2 separate regions of the Homo sapiens genome follow, and region 1 is linked to region 2. The links are contacts of gene promoters, found by promoter capture Hi-C in human tissues and cell types (Jung and others, 2019). All regions are on one chromosome and are shown on one strand. The core of a region is centred on a gene start or on the middle of the fragment in contact, and the rest is flanking DNA. Distances in the headings are between cores, read along the strand shown.

What was found. The method cuts DNA at HindIII sites, captures the fragments that hold promoters and counts their contacts. A contact is called where the count stands out against the background at its distance.
Region 1: a fragment that was not itself captured here is called in contact with the fragment with the promoter of PLAUR in region 2 in 2 of the 25 tissues and cell types used here (dorsolateral prefrontal cortex and hippocampus).

What each region holds. Positions count from the first base shown.
Region 1 is chr19:42,430,604-42,437,380 of GRCh38, forward strand. It overlaps CXCL17 (C-X-C motif chemokine ligand 17), which reads right to left. Exons shown (of 4, transcript NM_198477.3): 2 at 3,173-3,253; 3 at 2,373-2,474. The region is part of intron 1 of LIPE-AS1 (LIPE antisense RNA 1); the gene reads left to right. Among named protein-coding and RNA genes, the nearest start is that of LIPE, 6.6 kb to the left of the region's middle. The HindIII fragment of the contact is 4,621 bases long and covers 585-5,205 here.
Region 2 is chr19:43,668,844-43,675,529 of GRCh38, forward strand. It overlaps PLAUR (plasminogen activator, urokinase receptor), which reads right to left and starts at 1,326. Exons shown (of 7, transcript NM_002659.4): 1 at 1,223-1,326. The coding sequence starts at 1,277. It overlaps LOC124904724 (a long non-coding RNA gene), which reads left to right. Exons shown (of 3, transcript XR_007067264.1): 1 at 1-340; 2 at 1,183-1,637. RefSeq lists silencers at 1-54, 95-174 and enhancers at 1,095-1,394, 6,591-6,686. The HindIII fragment of the contact is 20,050 bases long and covers 1-6,686 here.

The sequences.
Region 1 (6,777 bases), core at 1,645-4,144, 1.2 Mb before region 2:
AAAAAAAGAAAGAAAGAAAGAAATAGAATATTGCCAACAGCACCCCTCCTTTTCTGATCACTGCTTTCTCTCCCCCTCACAGTGATAATCTTGACTTTTATAGTAATTATTTACTTTCTTTTCTTTATTATTTACCACCTATGTGTATAGATTCCTAAATAATTTAGTTTATTTTTTCTCATTTTTAAACTTTATGTATATATTATGGTCTGAATGTTTATGTCTCTCCCCATTTTTTTTGTTTTTGTTTTTGAGATGGAGTCTCACTCTGTTGTCCAGGCTGGAGTGCAGTGGCGTGATCTTGGCTCACTGCAACCTCTGCCTCCCGGGTTCAAATAATTCTCCTGTCTCAGCCTCCTAAGTAGCTGGGATTACAGATGTGCACCATCACGCCCGGCTAATTTTTTTGTATTTTAAGTAGAGACGGGGTTTCACCATGTTGGCCAGGCTGGTCTCGAACTCCTGACCTCAGGTGATCCCCCTGCCTTGGCCTCCCAAAGTGCTGGGATTACAGGCATGAACCACTGCACCTGGCCTCACTTTAGTTTTAATTCACATTTTCCTTGTAATAATAAGGTTGAGTGCCATTGCATCTGTTTATTAGCTGTTTGGGTTTCATCATCTGTGAAGTGGCTATTCAAGTATTTTTGCCCGTTTGTCTGTTGTATTTCCTGCCCTCCTCTCACTGGTCTGTAGCAATTCCTTATATATGTATTCTGAATACTAATCCTTTGAAGGTTGTGTATGTTACAGATATCGTCTCCTATTTGGCAGCTTGTCATTTTATTCTTTTGATGATCAAAATTTCATAATCTCAGTGAAGTCAGATTTATTTACTCTTTTACTTTATGGTTTGTGCATTTTGTATTTTGTTTAAGAAAGGCTTTCATACCTCAAGGTTGTGAATATATTCTCCTGTATTTCCTTGTAAATTTGTCTTTCAAATTTAGATCTGTAATCCACCTGAAACTTACGTTAATGAAGGATGTGAAATAGGGGGTCTCTACATCATTTTTTTTTCATTAATATATTGTGGATATCTCTCCAGCCAACACATAATGATTTATCTCATTATTATTATTATTATTTTTATTATTATTGTTATTATTATATTTATTTTAGAGACAGGATCTTGCTATGTTGCCCAGGCTGGTCTTGAGCTCCTTGGCTTACTGGATCCTCCTGCCTCAGCCTCCTGAGTAGCTAGGATTATAGGCCTGAGCCACTGCCCCTGGTTTACTTAATTATTTTTGACAGTAATTAGTTTTTCCCAATTTGCCTTTGAAGAAAATTTCCCCCATTTATTTGTCAATACAAATACTGCTATAATTAATATTCTTGTACCTATATTTTGAGCATCCATGCTAGTATTCCATTGTTGAGATTTCCTAAAGTAAGATTACTAAAGTTATTATACTCATTTACAATTTTGATACAGCCAAATTTATTTTACTTCCGTCAATAGTGTATAAGGATCCTGATATATCCCATTCTTGATAATATCATAATATCAATCAGTTTAACATTTGCCAATTTAGTTTTTTTTTTTTTTTTTTTTTGAGGCAGAGTCTCACTCTGTCGCCCAGGCTGGAGTGCAGTGGCATGATCTCAACTCTCTGCAACCTCCACCTCCCGGATTAAAGCAATTCGCGTGCCTCAACCTCCCGAGTAGCTGGGATTACAGGCATGCACCACTATGCCCCGCTAATTTTTGTATTTTTAGTAGAGACGGGGTTTCACCATGTTGGCCAGGCTGGTCTTGAACTCCTGGCCTCAAGCAATCCGCCTGCCTCGGCCTCCCAAAGTACTGGGATTACAGGCATGAGCCACTGTGCCCGGCTGCCAATTTACTTTTTATATGACACTTAAAAACTGGTAGACTAAACTGGGTGTGGTGGTGTGTACCTCTAACCCCAGATCCTTGGGAGGCTGTGGTGGAAGGATCACTTGAGCCCAGGAGTTTGAGACCAACCTGGGCAACATGGCAAGACCCCCTACTCAAAAAACAGAACAAAATAACAAACACAAAACTGCTAGACTAGGGAGGAGTCAAATTCTGTTTGATGCTGACACTGGTGTAATCTTCAGAGATTAATGACCAGATCTCCAACAGCCCCATCTACCCCCACTTTGGTAAACAGTGAGGTTTTAAAATCTAAGAATTTGGTTAAACCTTTCCAGTATCAGGAAAATTGTATCCTGCTTTTCCTCTCTTCCTATTTCCCGACAAGGTGACATTGAGTAGAAAGGGCTGAGTTGTGTGCTTATCCTGGTCTTAATTTCACCTCTTTTTTCTATTCTCAACGTGCTTCTTCCCTAGTGATTTCACGGAGTGACTCTGGTATAAGGAAAATCATCCTTTGGAAACTTACTTGTTTTCTTCACATTGCCCTTGAAATGATCACAGGGGCACTGCTTCTTTGGCAGCCCAGACACTGTCATGAATTTTCTTCTCGGGGCTCTCAGGAACCAATCTGGAACAACAGCATTGCTGCTTAGATGGGAGAGTTAATACATTTGATAGGAGGGAGTAGGACAGAGCTTTAATCGCCATCTTCTGTGCCTTGCATTTCCACTGCAATGGGGTGGGAAAAGGGGTCAACAGAGAACAGTGTCCATCCAGCTATTTGAATGCCAGTATTTCTGAGTTGTTTTTCCTGACAACTTTGGGCAAGGTTTGGGCAAGGGTTTGGGCAAGGGTTTGGTGGCAGGTTTGGAGGGTGCATCAGAATATCATTACTCCAAAGAATGAGGAGTAAGGCTTGGGTGTCTGCTTTTCAGTGGCTACTTTCCCTTGGGGAAGCCATTTTGCCTCTCTGCTTTCAGTCTTGCCTGTGAGTAAAATAAGGCTGAGAATAGGATTCAGGAAGCTTTTGGAAGGCCAGGAAAAAATAAAAAGGCTTTTGGACGGTAGCTCTGGGTTCTTCAGGAAAAGGATAAGGGGCAGGGCGCAGCCTGACATTTGGCTGGCTTTCCCCTAGACCTTGGAGAAGTCCAGTTCTTGCCTGAGAGTCAGGAAGAAAGTGGGCACAGGTGCTGCATGTGGCAGGCTGTGGAGAGGGGAATGGGTGAGGTCAGCTGAGATAACATCTGCATTGGTCTCAGAGGGGCCCAAGGGAGAGAGCTGGGGTCATGGTGATGCCATCGCTGTTGTTGTTGCTGAATTACTGACCTTTGCACTCACATTCTTGGCCGCCTTCCTGGAGCCATCTCCTAGAAGCCTGGCCTCGGTCCCTGTGGCCTCTGGCGACCCCTGTCGGAAGGAAACAGGTCACATCCAGACACTGGAAAGGGCACAGAAATGATCCTCCCAGCATTGTTCTACCTAGGTCAGCACAGTTCCATTTTTCCATTTTTACTTCAAGAATCTAGGTTACTTCAAGAGATGAATATTTTATTTTTATTTATATTTTTGAGATGGGGTCTTGCTGTGTTGCCTAGGCTGGTCTTGAACTCTTGGGCTCCAGTGGTCCTCCTGCCTTGGCCTCCCAAAGTGCTAGGATTATAGGCGTGAGCCACTGTGCCCAGCTGAGGGGTATTTTAATCGATAAGGGATTGAGGTTTAAAATCTGGCCTATACATAAGCATATTCAAAAATTTAATGATTAAAAAAATCTGGCCTAGAGAAAAGCTTAGCTGAAGGTAGGTGGAGAAAGAATGGCTTCTAGATGGAAGAGATGATAAAAGGCAGGGGTTTGTCGAAACCTCCTGCCCTCTCCTCATACCTCACATTAAAATCCTCATGACTTAAAAGAGTGAGAGCGAGGAGGAGATTATTCCTTAAATCAAGATTTTCCCTTGACCTCCAAGTTGCTGGGTTTTTTGTTTGTTTGTTTGTTTTTTGAGACAGAGTCTCACTCTGTCATCCAGGCTGGAGTGTAGTGGTGCAATCACGGCTCACTGCAGCCTTGACCTCCTGGGTTTGGTTGGTCCTCCCATCTCAGCCTCCTGGGTAGCTGAGGCTTCAGGCATGCACCACCACTCCTGGCTAGTTTTTTGTATTTTTTGTAAAGATAGGGTTTTGCCAAGTTGCCCAGGTTGGTCTGGAGCTCATGGGCGTAAGCGATCCGCCTGTCTTGGCCTCCCAAAGTGCTGTGATTATAGGCATGAGCCACCACACCCACCCCAAGTAGCTGTATTTGAATCCAGAGTCCCAGTTCAACTATTAAACGATGGTATTTACCTTTGTTCCTCTGGAACAAATACATTCTTCTTTTGGCCTTTATCCGAGCCTGTTTTATTTTCCGATTCTATCTTATCTCCATTTTTTGATACTTAAAATATTCCTATGACAGGCTGGGCACGGTGGCTCATGCCTGGAATCCCAGCACTTTGGGAGGCTGAGGCAGGCGGATCATGAGGTCAGGAGGTCAAGACCATCCTGGCTAACATGGTGAAACCCCGTCTCTACTAAAAATACAAAAAATTAGGCGGGCGTGGTGGCGGGCGCCTGTAGTCCCAGCTACTCGGGAGGCTGAGGCAGGAGAATCTCTTGACCCCAGGAGGCGGAAGTTGCAGTGAGCTGAGATCGTACCATTGTACTCCATCCTGGGCGACAGAGCGAGACACGGTCTCAAAAAAAAAAAAAAAATTCCTAAGACAATCAAGAATGATGGTTTATAGACTTGAGATTCTCAAGTAAGAGCTTGGCTCAGATGACACTTCCTTTATGGTAGTTTCTGATATTTCCTGTCAACATGAATTATACCTTCATATGGTTCCCATTGTTGTTGAATGCAGTTCTGTTATTGCACTGTAATGTTGTTGTTTGAAATCTTTTATGGACTGAATTGTGTCTCCCGAAATTCACATGTTGAATCCATAACCCCCAGTACCTCAGAATGACTGTATATGGAGATAGGACCTTTAAAGAGGTGATTAAAATCAGGCTGTTATGGTGGGCCCTACACCAGTCTGCCTGGTGTCCTTATAAGAAAAGGAGATTTGGGCTGGGCGCGGTGGCTCATGCCTATAATCTCAGCAATTTGGGAGGCCGAGGTGGGTGAATCACAGGTCAGGAGTTTGAGACCAGCCTGGCCAACATAGTGAAACCCTGTCTTTACTAAAAATACAAAAATGAGCAGGGCATGGTGGCGCGTGCCTGTAGTCCCAGCTACTTGGAAGGCTGAGGCAGGAGAATTGCTTGAACCCGGGAGGCAAAGGTTGCAGTGAGCTGAGATCATACCATTGCACTCCAGCATGGGCAACAAAGCAAGACTTTGTCTAAAAAAAAAAAAAAAAAGTAGGGGGGATCCTAGAGAGCTCTTTCATTCTCTTTCCACCTCTTGAAGATAAGAGGAGAAGTCCACTGTCTGCAACCTGGAAGAGGACCCTTGCCAGAACCCAGCTGTGCTGGCACCCTGATTTCATATATCCAGCCTGCAGAACTGTGAGGAATAAATTTCTCTTGTTTATGCCACCCAGTCTGTGGTATTGTGTTATGGCATTCCTAGCAAACTAAAATAAAATATTTCTCCTTCACTAGACTCTGAACCATTGGTTCAGTAGTCATTCAGGTACGTGGTTCCTAACACATGGTAGGCATTTGGCAAATGTTTGTTCAACACGTGGATGGATAAGTTGTTTGGAGAGGACCCTTAGAGATCATATGGTTCAATTCAGGCCTCCTACTTCCCAGACTTCTGCCACACAGATGGAGGGGGTTGCGTCATTTCCCCAAGGGCTGCTTTTCCAATGTTCTCATGTGCTGTTTTGAGTGTTATCAAAGTAATTTAAGCAGGCATAGGTCCTGCCATTTAAACTTTTCTAACATTTTTACTCTTGCCTGACCTCTACTCCTAGTTCCAGAGAAAAACCACAGAATATTAGACCTTGAAGGAAATCCCAGAGATTATTTAATTGAATTCCTTAATTCTGAAGTTTTTTTTTTTTTCAGTCTAAATGTAATTTAACTGTTGGAGAAAATTTTGAAAGTACAAACAGAGAAATTATTATTCTTACCAACTGTTGGTATTTTGGCATATTTGTTACCTACATATGCTTTTTATTAATATAGTGATAACCATAGCATGTAAACACATTCTCTTTTTCCATTCATAGGCATGTTGCTGTGTCATCTTCATAACACATTTTTAATGAATGCATAATACTCTCAATAATTATGTGTTCCAAATTATTTAACTGCTTTCCCATTGCTGAATATTTAGAAAGTTTTATTTTTTAGATGTTGGTAAATTTCTTTGTTCTTGTAACTGTTTTCCAAATTTTAGATTATTTTCTTGAGAGAGAGTTCCCAAAGTGGAATTACTGGGTCAAAAGTTAAGAATTGCTTTCAGAAGAGCTATACTAATGTTTAAATTTTTTTTCATTTAATTATTTATTTATTTTTTTTGAGACGGAGTCTCACTCTGTCGCCCAGGCTGGAGTGCAGTGTTGTGATCTCGGCTCACTGCAACCTCTGCCTCTCGGGTTCAAGCAATTCTCCTTCCTCAGCCTCCCAAGTAGCTGGGATTACAGGCACCCACCACCATGCCTGGCTAATTTTTGTATTTTTAGTAGAGGCAGGTTTTACCATGTTGGTCAGGCTGGTCTTGAACTCTTAACCTCAAGTGATCCGCTCCCCTCGGCCTCCCAAAGCGTTGGGATTATAGGCATGAGATGCTATGCCTGGCCACTTTATACTTTTTCTCTAAACAAATTTATTTTGCAAAACATCCTCATCCTATGCAATATTATCTGTGAAATTACAGGTTTGATGTATGCTTAGTTTTTTCCTAACATGCATTGGAATAAACACATAAATATTAAAGTAAAAAG
Region 2 (6,686 bases), core at 76-2,575:
GCTCCTAGCTCTTCCTCGGTCTGTAACCTCTCCCGTAGCTCTTCCTTGAGGTTCCAGCCCCGCCCTCTGGCTCCTCCCCGACACTCTCTCCCCGCCCCAGGCTCCGCCCCGAGATTGCAGCCCAGTCCCTAGGCCCGGTCCCCGACCTCCGGGCCTTCCCGGACATCCCTTTCCAGCTGCGCGTTCGGAGTATCCCGGAGCTGTTACTCATTCCCGGCCTCCCGCGGTCTCGAGCGCTTTCCGGGTTATTCATCGCGGCCCCAACACCCTGTGGCCACCCGCCCTGACTCAGTTCCTTCTCGAATTCCTCGACCCAGAGCCCCCCACATTTTCCGGGGAAGTAAGTGAGAGTCGCCTCAGTGAGAGGGAAAGGTCCTGAGGGACAGTCCCGGGTCTCCAGCACTGGCTCTGCGCCGCTCAGTCAGCCTCCCTTTGGGCCTTTTGTAAAAGGGGGTCCTGTCCCCCCGTTTCTCAGAGGGGGAGACCCAGCAGCGTGGAGAGCGCTGGGGGGCGCTGCAGGGTCAGATCCTGCGTATTCAAGCACTGGCTGTGTGATTTTAGGCCAGTTATCTAACCTCTCTGTGCCCTAGTTTCCTCTGCGAAACGAAATTAATAAAGTCCCATCGCCTAGTTTGAAATTGCAAGGAAGAGGCTTCGAAGAACTCCATTTAAAAAAAGAACACTTGGGCCGGGCGCGGTGGCTCACGCCTGTAATCCCAGCAGTTTGGGAGGCCGAGGCAGGTGGATCATCTGAGGTCAGGAGATTGAGACCATCCTGGCTAACAGAGTGAAACCCGGTCTCCACTAAAAATACAGAAATTAGCCGGGCGCGATGGCAGGCGCCTGTAATCCCAGCTACCCAGGAGGCTGAGGCAGGAGAATCGCTTGAACCCGGGCGGCAGAGGTTGCAGTGAGCCGAGATCGCGCCACTGCACTCCAGCCTGGGCGACAGAGTGAGACTCTGTCAAAAAAAAAAAAAAAAAAAAAAAAGCACTCACTAAATTATGTAAAGCTAAATGCCTTTGCTCCACTAATATTTCCTTAGCTACTGAGTGCCAGGTACTGCGCCGCGTGGCGTTGCACAAAGCACGAGAATTACTATTATTTGATTAGGGAGGATGCTGAGGACTGAACCGCATTCCTCCAACTCATCCTCTGACAACCCCCAACCCCCTCAATTAGACCCTGTTCCAGGCGCAGGCGTTCGGGACCCAGCCCCTACCTGGGACGCAGGTGTGGAGCAGCAGCAGCAGCGGCAGCAGCGGCGGGTGACCCATGTCGCGAGGGCAGCTCCTGTGCGCGGGGTCCCTGCACGTCTTCTCTCCTTCTGGCCTCAGGAAGGAGGCAGTTTTGTGGCCCCAGGGACTCCTCCCAGACGTTTTGCGAAAGAGCGAGTCAGCCCCAGATGCGTGGGCGCCTCCCCCTCCTCCCGTACGAACCTCCTCCGCCACAAACTTCCCTTCCCGGGGCGCGGCCGGCTGGTGGTGAAGGGGCTGGCTCGGCCCTGACTCATGGAGTTGTGATCACAGCTCTGTCCCCAGATTGCCTGGGTGCAAATCCCAGTTCTCTCTCTTCCTAACGTGGGACCCGGGGCAATCGCTCTCCACTGCTGTAAAATGAGGATAAAAACTTTGACGGTAAATATGAATGTGGCTGATTATTTGGCTAACAGGATTTTTGTTAGTTTTGTCAGGAGGGATACTGGTATTTTGGAAAATGTCCTTATCTAGAGATGCATCCTGAAATATGCATCTCTTAAACACTTAAAACACTTAACCCTTGCTTTGCTTCCCGCTGTGCCCCCAGCTCCTGGACCAGTGCCCAGCACGAAGTAGGTCCTTGGTAAATGTTAAAGGAATGTGTTGAGCCCTCCATTTTGGCCAGCAGCTATTCCAGGCATTGCACCTACATTAAAACACTTAATGGTGAAACCCCGTCTCTACTAAAAATACAAAAATTAGCCGGGCGTAGTGGCGTGTGTGTGTTACTTAGGAGGCTGAGGCAGGAGAATCGCTTGAACCCGGGAGGCGGAGGTTGGGTTGCAGTGAGCCGAGATCGTGCCACTGCACTCCAGCCTGGCAACAGAACAAGACTCCTTCTCACAGAAAAAAAAAAAAAAAAAAAAAAAGACACTTCAGCCAAAAAAGTAGATATCACTGTTACGACAATGGCTGTATGCTTAGGTGGGATTCTGGTTTTTGTTTGTTTGTTTGTTTTTGCAGATGCTTACTAGAGTATTTAGTGGTGAATGTTATTGATGTCTGCATTTTTTGTTGTTGTTGTTTTGGGGATTTTTGTTTTGTTTTTTCTTTTTCTTTTGTTTTCATTTTGATGTCTGTATTTATTTTATAATATTTTAGAAGAGGTCAGATGAGGTGGCTCATGCCTGTAACACCAATGCTTTGGGAAGCCAAGGCAGGAGGATCACTTGGGGCCAGGAGTTCAAGATCAGCTTGGGAAACATAAAGAGCCCTCATCTTTCCAAAAGAAATTAAAAATAAAATAAAATTAGCTGGGTGCAGTGGCCCGTACTTGTAGTCCTAGGTAGTTGGGAGGCTAAGGTGGGAGGACCGCTTGAACCTGGGAACTGGAAGCTGCAGTGAGCTATGATTGCACCACTGCACTCCAACCTGGGCAACAGAGCGAGACCCTGTCTCAAAAAAATAATAAATAAATAAATACTTGAGTAGAAAATAAAGGCAAAATAGCCAAATGGTTGTATCAATTATATAAAGGTAATCAGTATATAAGGGCATATTATGCCATTCTGTCTCCTTTTCTGTGGGTTTGAAAAGGCTTATAATAAGTTTTTTCTTTCTTTTTATTATTTATTTATTTATTTATTGAGACGAAGTCTCACTCTGTCACCCAGGCTAGAGTGCAGTGGTGCAATCTCGGCCACTGCAATCTCCGCCTCCTGGGTTCATGCAATTCTCCTGCCTCAGCCTCCTGAGTAACTGGGATTACAGGGGCACGCCAGCACACCCGGCTAATTTTTGTATTTTTAGTAGAGATGGGGTTTCACCATGTTGGTCAGGGTGGTCTCGAACTCCTGACCTCAGGTGATCCACCTGCCTTGTCCTTCCAAAGTGCTGGGATTACAGGCATGAGCCACTGCACCTGGCCAAGTTTTTTTTTTTTTTAAGTAAAATAAAATACTAAAGATAAAATTGTCTCCCCGTCTTAGGATGCATCTAACTAAACAGAGCAATTTAATGTAGGTGCAATGCCTGGAATAGCTGCTGGCCGAAATGGAGGGCTCAACACATTCCTTTAACATCTACCAAGGACCTACTTTGTGCTGGGCACTGGTCCAGGAGCTAGGGGCACAGCAGGACGCAAAGCAAAGTTCCCACCTTTTGTTGTGTTGACAGTGGGGAGCAGATATGTGTTATCTAATCTTTCACTGTCTGAGAGGGATAAGCAAACTGGAGAAAACAAAGCAGGCTGAAGGAAGTATCTGGGTGCAAATGAGGTGTGAGCTGTTTTAGGTGGGTGATCCAGGAGGGGTTCCCTGAGCAAGTGGCATTCAAGCAGAGGCTGAATGCAGTGAGGGAAGAAGTAGGGCAGATGGGCAGGGAACCTTTCCAAGGAGCAGGAACAACCAGTGCAAAGGCCTTGAGGTGGAAGCCTGATGAGATTCTAGGAACAGAAGAGATGTCAGTGTGGCTGGAACAGATTAGGAGAGGAAGAGAGTCGTAGGGGATGAGTAAGTGGTAGCTACTTCTACTGCTGTAATAATGATTATACTATGTGATTTGTTGTCGTTGTTGTTGTTGTTTTTGAGACAGAGTCTCACTTTGTCTCCCAGGCTGGATGCAATGGCGTGGTCTCGGCTCACTGCAACTTCCACCTCCCAGGTTCAAGGGATTCTCATGCATGCCTGGCTATTTTTTTTTTTTTTTTGAGTCGGAGTTTCTTTCTTGTTACCCAGGCTGGAGTGCAATGGCACGGTCTCGGCTCACTGCAACTTCTGCCTCCCAGGTTCAAGAGGTTCTCCTGCCTCAGCCTCCTGAGTAGCTGAGATTACAGGCATTCTCCACCATGCCTGGCGAATTTTTTGCATTTTTAGTAGAGATGGGGTTTCACCATGCTGGCCAGACTGGTCTTGAACTCCTGACTTCAGGTGATCCACCCGCCTCAGCCTCCCAAAATGCTGGGATTACAGGCTTGAACCACTGCGCCCAGCCCTAATTTTTGTATTCTTAGTAGAGATGGGGTTTCGCCATGTCGGCTAGGCTGGTCTCGAACTCCTGACTTCAGATGATCAACCTGCCTCAGCCTCCCAAAGTGCTGGGATTACAGGGGTGAGCCACCGCACCCGGCCCTAATTTTTGTATTGTTAGTAGAGATGGGGTTTCACCATGTCTGCCAGGCTGGTCTCTAACTCCTGACTACAGGTGATCCACCCACCTTGGCCTCCCAAATTGCTGAAATTACAGACATGAGCTACCGCTTCCAGCCTGTACTATGTGATTCTTACTAACTCATTGAAGCTGTAAGCTAATGATTTTAAGATAAGGTTAGAAAACAAAAAACAAAAAAACTCCCAATGGTGAGCACAGTGGTTCATGCCTATAATCTCAGCACTTTGGGAGGCGAAGGCTGGAGGATTGCTTGAGCTCAGGGGTTCGAGACCACCCTGGGCAACATAGTAAGACCTTGTATCTATAAAAAAATAAAATTACAGCCTGGACAACATAGCGAGACCTTGTCTCTATGAAAAATAGAAAAATTAGCCAGGTGTCGTGGTGCACACTTGTGGTCTCAGCTACTCTCTGGTTGAGGTGGGAGGATCACTTGAGCCCCAGGGGTTTGAGGCTGCAGTGAGCCAAAATCGAGCTACTGAACTCGAGCCTGGGCAACAAAAGTGAGACTGAAAAAAAAAAAAAAAAGAACTCCCAGAGAATTTCCTAAGAGGTAGTATAGCCCAATGGTTAAGAGTGTGGGAGCTGGTCTCAGATTGTGAAAATCTAAATTGCATCTACATATTGGCTGTGTCACCTCTAGCAGGTTACTTAATCTATCTCTGTGCCCAAGCCCCTTATCTGGAAAGTAGAGATAGCAAGTATCACCCTCCCAGGGCTGGTGTACTGCGGAGGTAAAAGAATCCACCTAAAATGACTGAGCATGGTGGCTCATGTCTATAATACCAGTGCTTTGGGAGACCAAGGCAGGTGGATCACTTGAGGTCAGGAGTTCAAGACCAGCCTGGCCACCATGGCAAAACCCTGTCTCTACTAAAAAATACAAAAAAATTAGCTAGGTGTGGTGGCATGCACCTGTAGTCCCAGCTACGCAGGAGGCTGAGGCACGAGAATTGCTTGAACCTGGGAGGCAGAGATTGCAGTGAGCCGAGATCGCACCACTCCACTCCAGCCTGTGCGACAGAGCTAGACTCCATCTAAAACAAACAAACAAACAAACAAAAAGAAGAATGCTCCTAAGATGCTTGCCACAGTGCCTGGTACATAGTATGTGCTCAATAAAAGCGATAGCTGCCAGTATTATCATTGTTGCAACTCTGGACATTCACCTCTTCCTGGAGTAGGAAGGGAGATGGAGGCCTGTCATTGAGTCTGACGTCAACAGTTATCACGCGTCAGCTGCTGAAGTGGGCACTTCCCTGGCTGGGTCACCCTGGGCCAATGACATTCTTCTTTCTGAGCCTCAGTTTTCTCAGCTGGAGAAGGGGATCCCTCTTGGGCTGGTGTGAAAACTAAACTAGATCGGAATGTACATGAGGTGGGGAAATAGACAGTTGGGGTGTTGGTCCAAGCAGGCTTGAGACCCAGCTCAGCCACTTGCTTCTGGGTGACCCTGGGCAGATGGCTTCACTCCATCAATCCCCGGCTTTGCCACCTATGAAATGGGTCTGGGGTGGGTAGGGGGCATCTCTCAGTGAAGAGAAAACTCAGGTTTGAGGGTCATGCGGAGCTGTGTGCTGTGCTGCTACCACTTCCTGGTGGGATGACCTCACTTCTCTAAGCCACAATTTCCCAATTTCCCTTTTTTTTTTTTTTTTTTTTTTTTTGAGACAGAGGCATGATCATAGCTCACTGCTGCCTTGAACTCCTGGGCTCAAGCGAAACTCCCACTTCAGCCTCCTGAGTAGTTGGGACCTAGGGGTGTGCACCACCATGCCTGGCTATTTTCTCATATTTCGTGTTTTTTGTAGAGATGGAGCCTTGGTCTGTTCCCCAGGCTGGTCTTGAACTGCTGGGTTCGAGTGATCCTCCCGCCTTGGCCTCCCAAAGTGGTGGGATTACAGGTGTGAGCCACTATGCTCAGCCAATTTCCTCTTTAACGAATGAGAGGTATTTCAGAGCCCACTCATCCCTGCCCAAGGCTGCCCTCGCCTCCTGAAATTTCTGTCTCTCCCTGTGTCTTTGTCTTTTTCTATCTCTCTGTTTTGTTGTTTTCTTTGTCTCTGTCCCTCTTTCTCTCTCTCAATGCCTATCTCTCTCTCTCTCCAACTCTATCACTTTCTCTCTCTGTACCTCGATCTCTGTATCTGTTTGTCTCTCTCTTCATGTCTTTTTATCTCTGCTTCTCCCTTTTCTCTGTCTCTCCCCATGGCTCTCTTTCTCTTTCTGTGTCATTGTTTCTGTTTCTCTTTCTGATTCTTTCTCTCTGTCTCTCCCTCAAGTGACACACACACACACCTGTAAGGTTCTGCTGACGTG